3 separate regions of the Homo sapiens genome follow, and regions 1 and 3 are each linked to region 2. The links are contacts of gene promoters, found by promoter capture Hi-C in human tissues and cell types (Jung and others, 2019). All regions are on one chromosome and are shown on one strand. The core of a region is centred on a gene start or on the middle of the fragment in contact, and the rest is flanking DNA. Distances in the headings are between cores, read along the strand shown.

The links. The method cuts DNA at HindIII sites, captures the fragments that hold promoters and counts their contacts. A contact is called where the count stands out against the background at its distance.
Region 1: a fragment that was not itself captured here is called in contact with the fragment with the promoter of C8B in region 2 in 1 of the 25 tissues and cell types used here (IMR-90 fibroblasts).
Region 3: a fragment that was not itself captured here is called in contact with the fragment with the promoter of C8B in region 2 in 1 of the 25 tissues and cell types used here (hippocampus).

What each region holds. Positions count from the first base shown.
Region 1 is chr1:58,451,744-58,454,849 of GRCh38, reverse strand. It overlaps a transcript of DAB1 not described here. Among named protein-coding and RNA genes, the nearest start is that of OMA1, 93 kb to the left of the region's middle. The HindIII fragment of the contact is 5,428 bases long and covers 1-3,106 here.
Region 2 is chr1:56,964,386-56,967,439 of GRCh38, reverse strand. C8B (complement C8 beta chain) reads left to right here and starts at 1,425. Exons shown (of 12, transcript NM_000066.4): 1 at 1,425-1,583. The coding sequence starts at 1,492. All of the region lies in intron 1 of LOC112267900 (a long non-coding RNA gene), which reads right to left. The HindIII fragment of the contact is 9,311 bases long and covers 1-3,054 here.
Region 3 is chr1:58,537,153-58,540,356 of GRCh38, reverse strand. It overlaps OMA1 (OMA1 zinc metallopeptidase), which reads left to right. Exons shown (of 9, transcript NM_145243.5): 2 at 1,047-1,562. The coding sequence starts at 1,063. It also overlaps a transcript of DAB1 not described here. Among named protein-coding and RNA genes, the nearest start is that of OMA1, 8.0 kb to the left of the region's middle. The HindIII fragment of the contact is 4,039 bases long and covers 1-3,204 here.

The sequences.
Region 1 (3,106 bases), core at 530-3,029, 1.5 Mb before region 2:
AGGTAGGAAGAGGGTGTGACCACGTATTTTCTTTCCTGAGAAAGGAGAAAAGCGCTTTACTGTCACAAACTGAGTGTGGAGAATTGTTTTGTCTGTGAACAGGCGGAACTGATGAAATCTCAGAAAGGCCTAGAGCAGAGGGGACAAGGCAGCCGCCTCTCAATCAAGCCCTGGGTGAGGAGGGAGGGTCCCCAGGTGGTGGGGAGCAGGAGGAGGCTGATGCTACTTAGAAAGCAAGGAGGTGTGGCCCTCGGACGTGGGTTCCTTTCCTTGCCTCCTTGAGTGCCCTTCACAGACACGCCCCTGCACCCGCCCCTAGCCTGCCCTGACATCCGTCGACAAAGCTTTTCTGTGTTGCTGTGGCCGTCTCTTGCTCAAGGTGAACTCTGAGTTTGGGTCGACTCCTGCAAGCGTCTGGCTCTAGGAGGCCTCCTGACCTCACCCACCCAGGGCCTTCTCTTGCTCTGGCCCACCTGAATGGGTCTGAAGATGAGGCTTCACTGGCTGCCCCCAAACTGCAGTTGCTCCTGCAGCTGGACGTGTAGTCTTGACTTTGCATCCCAGGGAGAGCTGTGTGTTTGTAGCCTGCCATTTCTGTGAGTTAATTCCAGAGGCAATTATTGTATTGCCTGCTCTTGCCACAGCCCCTCGATGGAGCAGCTCATAGGCCATTTGATCCCGTTCTTTATCCAATTGCTAATTGGGCCAGAGGTGAATGCCCAGTCGAAGCCCAGAATTGTGTAGCAGATTTAAAAAGTTGGGCTGAGCCAATTGATATTTCTCTCCAAGATTTGGTATCGAAAACTTAAAGAGACTGCTGCTAGTGTGTAGCACGGAGGTGATGTGGAGCTGGAAGACTTGGGGGCCTTGTACAAGCTGATGTGCAAGCAGGAGAAAGCAGGTGTGAGGGAGAGCCAGGGCTTGGAGCAGACCCATGGGGAAAAGGAGAGGCTGGGCAGGCCTGGGAGCTAGAGGTCAGGTCTCCATTCCTGAGTCCTGACTCTCCTCAGTTTTCTCTCACAGGTTCTGTGAGATCTTTGTGAAGTCCTACAATCAATAAATGCCTTCTACTAAAGCTAGTGCAAGGTGGGGGAGGTTTTCCTCCATACAGCCAAGAATCTTGGTGGAAACAGAACCCGAGGTAGCTGCAGCCCTTGGAGAGCACCTGAGGGCAGTGAGAAGTGTTTCTGCAGAGGCAAGGATGGCATCCCCAGCGCATCAAGGAGGTTGACTCCAGAGGGGCTTATTTCACAAAGCCTTTGCAGCACGCCTCGGGTCACGGGCCACCTGGGCCAGTGAGATTCAAAAGGAGAGGAATTTCGAGAGGCAGGATTCCAGTAATTAGTTGAGATTGCTACAGATAGGCTGACAGGAGTGAAGGAGATCCTTTCAGGTTGGGACAGTGTGAGCAAAGACTCGCGAGTAGGAATATAGCCATTCACCATTGTTATTATTGCTGTTCTCAATTATAATTATTATATGAGCTTACATGCAGTCAAGTCGACTTCCTTTCCCTGGGTAAACATGTATAGATTAGTGACACTACCATCACCTTCAGGACACAGAGGAGCCTGTCACCCCCAAAACTCCCTGTGCCCCTTTGCTTTGAGTGCTTCACACTCCCCCACCTCTACCCCCCGGTGATCACTAGTTCTCTCTCACTAGTGTTTTACCTTTTCCGGAAGGTCATATAAATGGAATCATGCACGGTATCTTTTGAGATGGTCTTTTCACTCAGCACGATGCCTTTGAGATTCATCCATGTTGTTTGTTGTTGTTTTTAATTGCTAAGTAGTATCCCATCGTATGGATAAACTGCAATGTGTTTATCCACGCCGCATTGTTTCCAGTGTTTGGTAATTATGAAAAGAGAAGTTATACCATTTATGTACAGGATTTTGTGTGAATATACTTTTTCATTTTTTCACTTTAATTACCTAGGAATGGGACTGCTGAGCTGTATGGCAAGTGTAGGTTTAGCTTTGTTTTTTTTTTGTTTTGTTTTTTGTTTTTTGTTTTTTTGAGATGGAGTCTCTCTCTGTCGCCCAGGCTGGAGTACAGTTGCTTAATCGTGGCTCACCGCAACCTCCACCTCCCGGGTTCAAGTGATTCTCCCGCGTCAGCCTCTGAGTAGCTGGGAGTAGTACAGGCACCCACCATCATGCCCAGCTAATTTTTTTTTTTTTTTTTTTTTGGTATTTTTGTAGAGATGGGGTTTCACCACGTTGGCCAGGCTGGTCTTGAACTCCTGACCTCAGGTGATCCGCCTGCCTTGGCCTCCCAAAGTGCTGGGATTACAGGCGTGAGCCACTGCGCCTGGTTTAGCTTTGTATGAAACTGTAGACTTTTTTGCAGAGTGGCTCTGTGATGTTGCATTTCCACCAGCAGTGAATGAAAGTTCCAGTTGGCCCACATCATCGTGAACATGTGGCTTTGTCTTCTTTTTTTTTTAGCCATTTTCATAGGGTTATAATGGTATCTCTATCTCATTGTGATTTTAATTTGCATTTTCCTAGGGGCTGATAATGTTTAACATCTTTTATGTGCATATGTGCCATATGAATAATTTCTTTGGTAAAGTGTCTCTTTTTTTGCCCTTTAAAAAAAAAGGATGCAGGCCAGGTGCAGTGGCTCACGCCTGTAATCCTAGCACTTTGGAAGGCCAAGGTGGGTGGATCATCTGAGGTCAGGAGTTCGAGACCAGCCTGACCAACGTGGCGAAACCCCCCTCTCAACTAAAAACACAAAAATTGGCCTGACGTGTTGGCTCGCACCTGTAATCCCAGCCACTCAGGAGGCTAAGGCAAGAGAATCGCTTGAACCCAGGGGGCGGGGCGGTGGGGCACAAAGGTTGCAGTGAGCGGAGATCGTGCCATTGCACTCCAGTCTGGGCAACAAGAGTGAAACTCCGTCAAAAAAAAAAAAAAAAGGAAAGAAAAAAAGTGGATGCTTTGCTTCTTACTGTTGAGATTTGAGACTTCTTTATATTTTTCTGAATATAAGTCTTACACTGAGTATGTGAGCTGCAAATATTTTCTTCCAGTCTTAACTTGTCGTTTGTTTTCTATTGCTCCATTTATCATTAACTGTGTTTCCCTCTGTTTAT
Region 2 (3,054 bases), core at 176-2,675:
AGAACCTCAGTCATTTGTATCTTTTGGGATGCAAACAATAACAACAACAGCACATATATATTTAGATAATTATTTTCATGTAGTTATTTCCTGGGTTTTTTTTGTTTTGTTTTGTTTTGTTTTATTTTGAGACGGAGTCTCGCTCTGTCACCCAGGCTGGAGTGCAGTGGCGCGATCTCGGCTCACTGCAAGCTCTGCCTCCCAGGTTCACGCCATTCTCCTGCCTCAGCCTCCCGAGTAGCTGGGACTACAGGCGCCCAACACCATGCCTGGCTAATTTTTTTTGTATTTTTGGTAGAGACGGGGTTTCACCATGTTAGCCAGGATGGTCTCGATTTCCTGACCTCGTGGTCCGCCCGCCGCGGCCTCCCAAAGTGTCATGTAGTTATTTCTATAATGCCTATTTGTTCAACAATTACACATTTAGTATTTGGTCTGACTCTCCCAACTGTGAGTGGTAAGTTGTCATAGTCCTCCTAATTTTACATATGAAGAAACAGAATCAGAGACAGTCAATAAAAATACCAGCTCACTTATAGAGAGTGCACATAGAATGTGCCAGGCAATGTTCAACATGTTTTGAACATGTTGTGAAGATTAAATAAATCTAATTTATTTAATAATAATAATTATAATTAATTATAATTACAATAATAATTAATAATAATCTAATTTATTTAATCTTCACAACAACCCGGTGAGGTTGGTATTATTATTATCCCTGTTTTATTGATGAAGGAACTTAGGCCCAGAGAGGGTTAGTAATTTTCTCTGGCCACACAGCTGGTGAATCATACAGAAGCAATTTGAAGTCAGGTAGATGGGTTCTAGAGCCCTACAGCCTCTTACTGACTTGCTCAACATCATGTAACTGGAAAGAGGCAAACATGGAATTCAAACCTTGGCCTGTCTGACTCCAAACCCTGAATTCTACTAAGTAATAATAGCTGACATATCTGAGCGCTGAACATAGGCCTGTTCTAAACATTTCCTTATATTAACGTGTTTAATTCTCACCACTTAGCAAGTAAGGAGAGTAAGGCACAGAAGTAAAGCAACTTGCCCATAGTCCAAAGCTGTTAGGTTGGTGCAAAAGTAATTGTGGTTTTTGCCATTAAAAGCAATGACAAAAACTGCAATTACTTTTGCACCAACCTAGTCAGTGGCAGAGAATGTACTTGAACCCAGGCTGTCTAGACCTAGATCCCACAGTCCTTGCCACCTCACTAATAGCCTGTCCACTTGGCAGCTTACCCTAAAGTTACAGAGGAATAAACACCATGCTGCTACAGATTTTTCATTATTCTGGTTGGTTTCCAGAGTGACAGGTAAGTTTTTGGTCTGTGCAAAGTCTGTTTCCAGTCACTAGTGGCTTTCTGTTTACTTTGCAGAGCTATTTGCTCTTGGGGACAGAAGCTGACAGTGGCACTCACAGCACAGGCTTGTTATGGGTCTAGCAGCCTCTGTGGCATCTCCTGTCACATTGGGAAAATGAAGAATTCCAGGACATGGGCTTGGAGGGCGCCGGTGGAGCTATTTCTTCTCTGTGCTGCCCTGGGCTGTCTCAGTTTGCCTGGCTCCAGGTAAGTGACAGTTACCAATAATTCCCTGATCAATAATATGACAGGGAAGGTGCAGCCACATGATGCTGACCATCTCTTTGTTGCATGCCTATTGAATGAGGAACGTCTCTTAAGGCAATTTGCATGCATCTGATAACATACTATCAACAACTCTTTTCAAATTATTGTGGAACCAAGTAGCTGATTTCAACAAAAGTTCCTGTAAGAAACTGACAGGTTTAAATGTATTTTGTCATGCTGAGAAGAATAGGATATTTTTTCTGTATTCTGAACAAAGCCTCCGTGTGATTCTTTATGAAAAAGAAAGTTTGTTACATACAGAGGACAAAAGAGCAAATTCATGAAATGATTTTAATAAATGAGATTGACCTACTCTACCTGCTCATCAACCCCAAATCTTCAGATTCTCAGGTTCTTTCCCACCCCCTTCTTACACACACACACACACACACACACACTCTCTCTCTCTCTCTCTCTCACCCCCCACAAGGTTCCCAGCAGTTAAATGCTGGCTGATTTATTTCATCATTGTTAGTCTCCATTAACAAGGTGCAAAACAAGCTAAAGAAAATATCCTAGTGGGAGCTCAAACTTGGGCTCCAGTGATAGAAGAGCCAGTGACGTAGCAATGTGGGGATGCTCCGTGTGCATGAGAAACCCCTGCCATGAGATGTTGAAGTGTGCATGTGTCCCCGGCCTCCATGTAAACACTCCTGTGGGAAGAGGGACTGTAATTCCATTCCTTTTACTTAGTCCAAAAATGAGATCTGAACAAACCTTTCACTTTATGTGAGGAGTACCTCCTACCCATGGGACACAGCCTCTGGTCTCAGTTCTGTTGAGCTGCCATTAGGAACCACAGGATGATGAGCATTCGTTCACTATCTATTGGCCACTCAATAAGTAACAGCTATTAGGATGATCAAGAAACTCCATTTAGCCCAGAGAATAACTAAGCTGCCAAGACCTTCCTTGTGTGTACTGTGTGTACACAGAGAAGCATTCAGGACCCAAGAAAATGTCTCCGGAATGGAGGACTTAAGGGAACCATAGCAACCCTATCTATAGCATTGTGCCCCTGGGTGGAGCTTTCTGTTGGGCTCTGAGGATACAGAGATGAGCCTATGTTCTCACAAAGAATGCCAACATGTGAGCATATGCTATGTGTACCGTTACAAAAGATGCTACGGGGCAGCCAGGAAACAAGGAGGGAATGATCAGCTCTACAGGGCATAGGGCCTGGAAAGGCTTCTAGAACAGAGAGTGTGAGGGCTGAATCTCTACAGGTGCGTGGGTGTTTGCCGAATGGCTAAGGGGTTGAAAGGTGTGCCAGGTAGAGGGAGCAGCACAGGCAACGGTGCGTGAGTGTGAGAGAGCTGGCTTGCTCCTGAAGCTTCCAGACACCTCAGTGGGCCTTGAACACAGGTCCCGGCAGGAAGTTGAGAGGGATGAGATAGAGTAGGAGTGAACA
Region 3 (3,204 bases), core at 2-2,501, 1.6 Mb before region 2:
TTTAATTATAAATTGCACCTTGTTAAGTGTTAAATAGTTTTGTGTCCTAATACCTGTTTAGATTTTTTTTTTTTCCTGGGATGCAGTTGTTGCTTGGAAGCATTTAATCTTTTTGGGGGTTGCTTTTAATATTTGTTAGGTGGGGCCAGAGCAGCTTTCGGTCTCAGACTAATCTTTCTCTAATGTTGAGGCAAAACCCTTCTGAGTACTCTACCCACGAATGATAAGGTTTTCCACTTTGAATGGTGGGGAGGGGATAGGCAGTATACCATGCCCTGTGTGAGCCCTGTATATTATTCCCTGCAATCTTTTCAGGTGGCCCTTTCCCAGCTCCAGGGAATTTTCTTACACATATGCCCAGACAGGACTCAGCTGAATATGGGAGGGGGATTCTCTGCAGAACTCTAGAGTTATTTCTCTGTGCAGCTCTTGTCTTCTCTTGTCCTCTGTCCTGTGAGCTCTAGCAACCTTGGTTTACTTGACCTCCCAGCTTTATCTCTTCGATTTAGGGGAACCACTGGGCTCCACCTAGGTTTACCCTGTCTGCATTGTGGCCTGGAAGCACTCTCCAGGCAATAAGCTAGGACAGTTGTAGGGCTCTGTTTCCCATCTGTTAGGGATCACTGTTCTTCATTGCGTAATGTCCAGTGCATTTTATAAGTTAGATTTTACTATTCTGTATCACATGCTTCCTTCCAGTTATTGCAAACTGATAAAGTTTTACTGTTGTTTTTATCTAATCCACTTTATTGCTCAAATCATTTGCCATTAAAATACAAATGGCTCTTCCCTAACTAAAAATTAAAAATGAAATGAAAAAAATTCAAGCTTCTAAAGTAAACGTTGCATAGTAAATATCGTGGTATATATACTCTGGTTTATCTTGCTGAAAGGCGTTGCTCTAGGGGTGATGAGTTGAAACCCAAGGTAATTTAGCCTGAGATGTGTTAGAAGAACAACTGACACGCCTATTTAATAAGTGTTATAGTCCCAGTTTGGTAAGTAAATATTTTCCACAGATATTTATAGTTTTTTTTTTGTTTCAGGTAGTCAAGTGAAAAAATGAGCTTCATCTGTGGATTGCAGTCTGCTGCTAGAAACCATGTTTTCTTCCGATTTAATTCACTGTCTAACTGGAGAAAATGTAACACATTAGCATCCACCTCACGGGGCTGTCATCAAGTACAAGTTAACCATATAGTAAATAAGTATCAGGGACTGGGAGTAAATCAGTGTGACAGGTGGAGTTTTCTGCCTGGAAACTTTCATTTTTATAGTACTTTTAACAACAAAAGAACAGGAGGCCTCTCAAGTACCAAAAGTAAGGAAATTTGGAGGATTACCAGCAAATGTACTGTATGGAATGATGCTTTTTCAAGACAGCTGCTAATAAAAGAAGTTACAGCAGTCCCTAGTCTGTCAGTATTGCATCCTCTAAGCCCTGCTTCCATAAGAGCTATTAGGAATTTCCATACTTCTCCACGGTTTCAAGCTGCTCCGGTTCCTCTCTTGTTGATGATTCTTAAACCAGTACAGAAGTTATTTGCAATCATTGTAGGCAGGTAAAATGCTTTTTTAGAATAAAAACTTTTATATTAACTTTTTGCATTAATATTTTGTGCTAACGTATTAACTTTTAGAAATTAATTTTTTTATTTATAAAACTGTACTTTTAAAGAAACCTTGCCAGATCCCCTGTCTCCCCCCATTTAGCTCAAAGTGAAGTTTCTAAACAGTAGGTCCTGCCCAATTTTGTTCTGTATGATTTAATAATCTTGAAACAATTTCCTGCATACTAATTTATGGTATAGAAATATCTCTTTAAAAAGTTATTCTTACATTTTGTATAGGCATTAAAAAAATCTTATATTTATGACTACAAAATCTTAGGATATATGGATCAGAAGTGCTGGTTATCACTTATGTATAAGAAGAGTACTTACAAACATTTCTTTTTAATTTGTGGAATTTAAGGCAGCAAATCATAAAATTGAGGAACTTTGCTTATATAAGGGTGGGCTCACTCCTAGTTAACTCTTAAGTCATTAATGCTTCTTTTCTTTCTATTCTGTTCCCAACAAATCTTTGTTTTTTTCCTTGGTGATCCTTTATAATAATATTTTCACAGCTTGTAGTGCTTTAACCCTTTTTCTCTTGTTTGTTTTATGAAGATGGAAGAAAGCTAATCACTGTTTCTTCATAAAGCTTTCTTGTGTTTGATGACTGTGAAGTCCCTTCTAGCCTTCTTACTACCACATGAACCAAACCAGTTTGCTTTTGATCAAAAACCAAGAACTTCTATTTGTAACTTATTGTGTTTTTCATGATTTGGTGTTGGCACCCAAAAGCGATACAGCTGTATTGACTATTGGTTGAAGTAATACGCTCATCCCAGGTTCTTCGGATGCTCTTTCTGATTTCTGCTATGTCCTCATCCTTTTAAATTATTTATTTGTAACTTTCTTGTTTTTGTTACTATTGTTGATCACCTAAAATTTTTCATTTAGAATATGTCTTTCATACATTTTAAATAAAGGATAATGTCATGTAAAGTTTTAAATAGGAAATAAGTATACTCGATAGTTTGATTTATGTCCCTTTAAATGGACACACTTTGTGTAAAGGCATTGGGGTGTGTCACTTCACAAAGAGAACTTTAAGAATTTGTAAAATAAATTTTTGTCAAGAGAATGATGTATATATGGTAAATTTTTGTTGTGATTTTACAGATCAACTCATAAGGAAAATTTTTGTCCCAGTATTGAAAACATTGCTTGTTGTCAAAATGTTTCTGAACACTGCTAAGTGGCAGAGAGTATTGTTGCCTGGTAGAAATTGGACCTTCTCAGATGTTATCTATAAAATCTCCCACTTTCTTATGAATACCTAGGATCTTGTTATCTCTCCTTTTTCACGTTGTAAAGAGGATAGTGGAGTTTCTGCTACTGAGCACTATTTATTTCCAAAATGAATGCTGAGGCAGTTTCCCTTGTACCTTGTGGAATCACTGGCAAATTGTGTTGGAGGTCTGAGGAGCAGTGGGAAAAGTAGTGGTTCCAGGTATAGATTTATTGTACTGTAACCTCTTACATAATTATTTAGGCATTTATCCCTATTAAGTGGCTAAGTGGTCAGACTCTGGAATGTCATTGCCTTCATTGCTTGGTTTTCCTTTTATTACCTCAGTGGCCATGGACAAGTTAC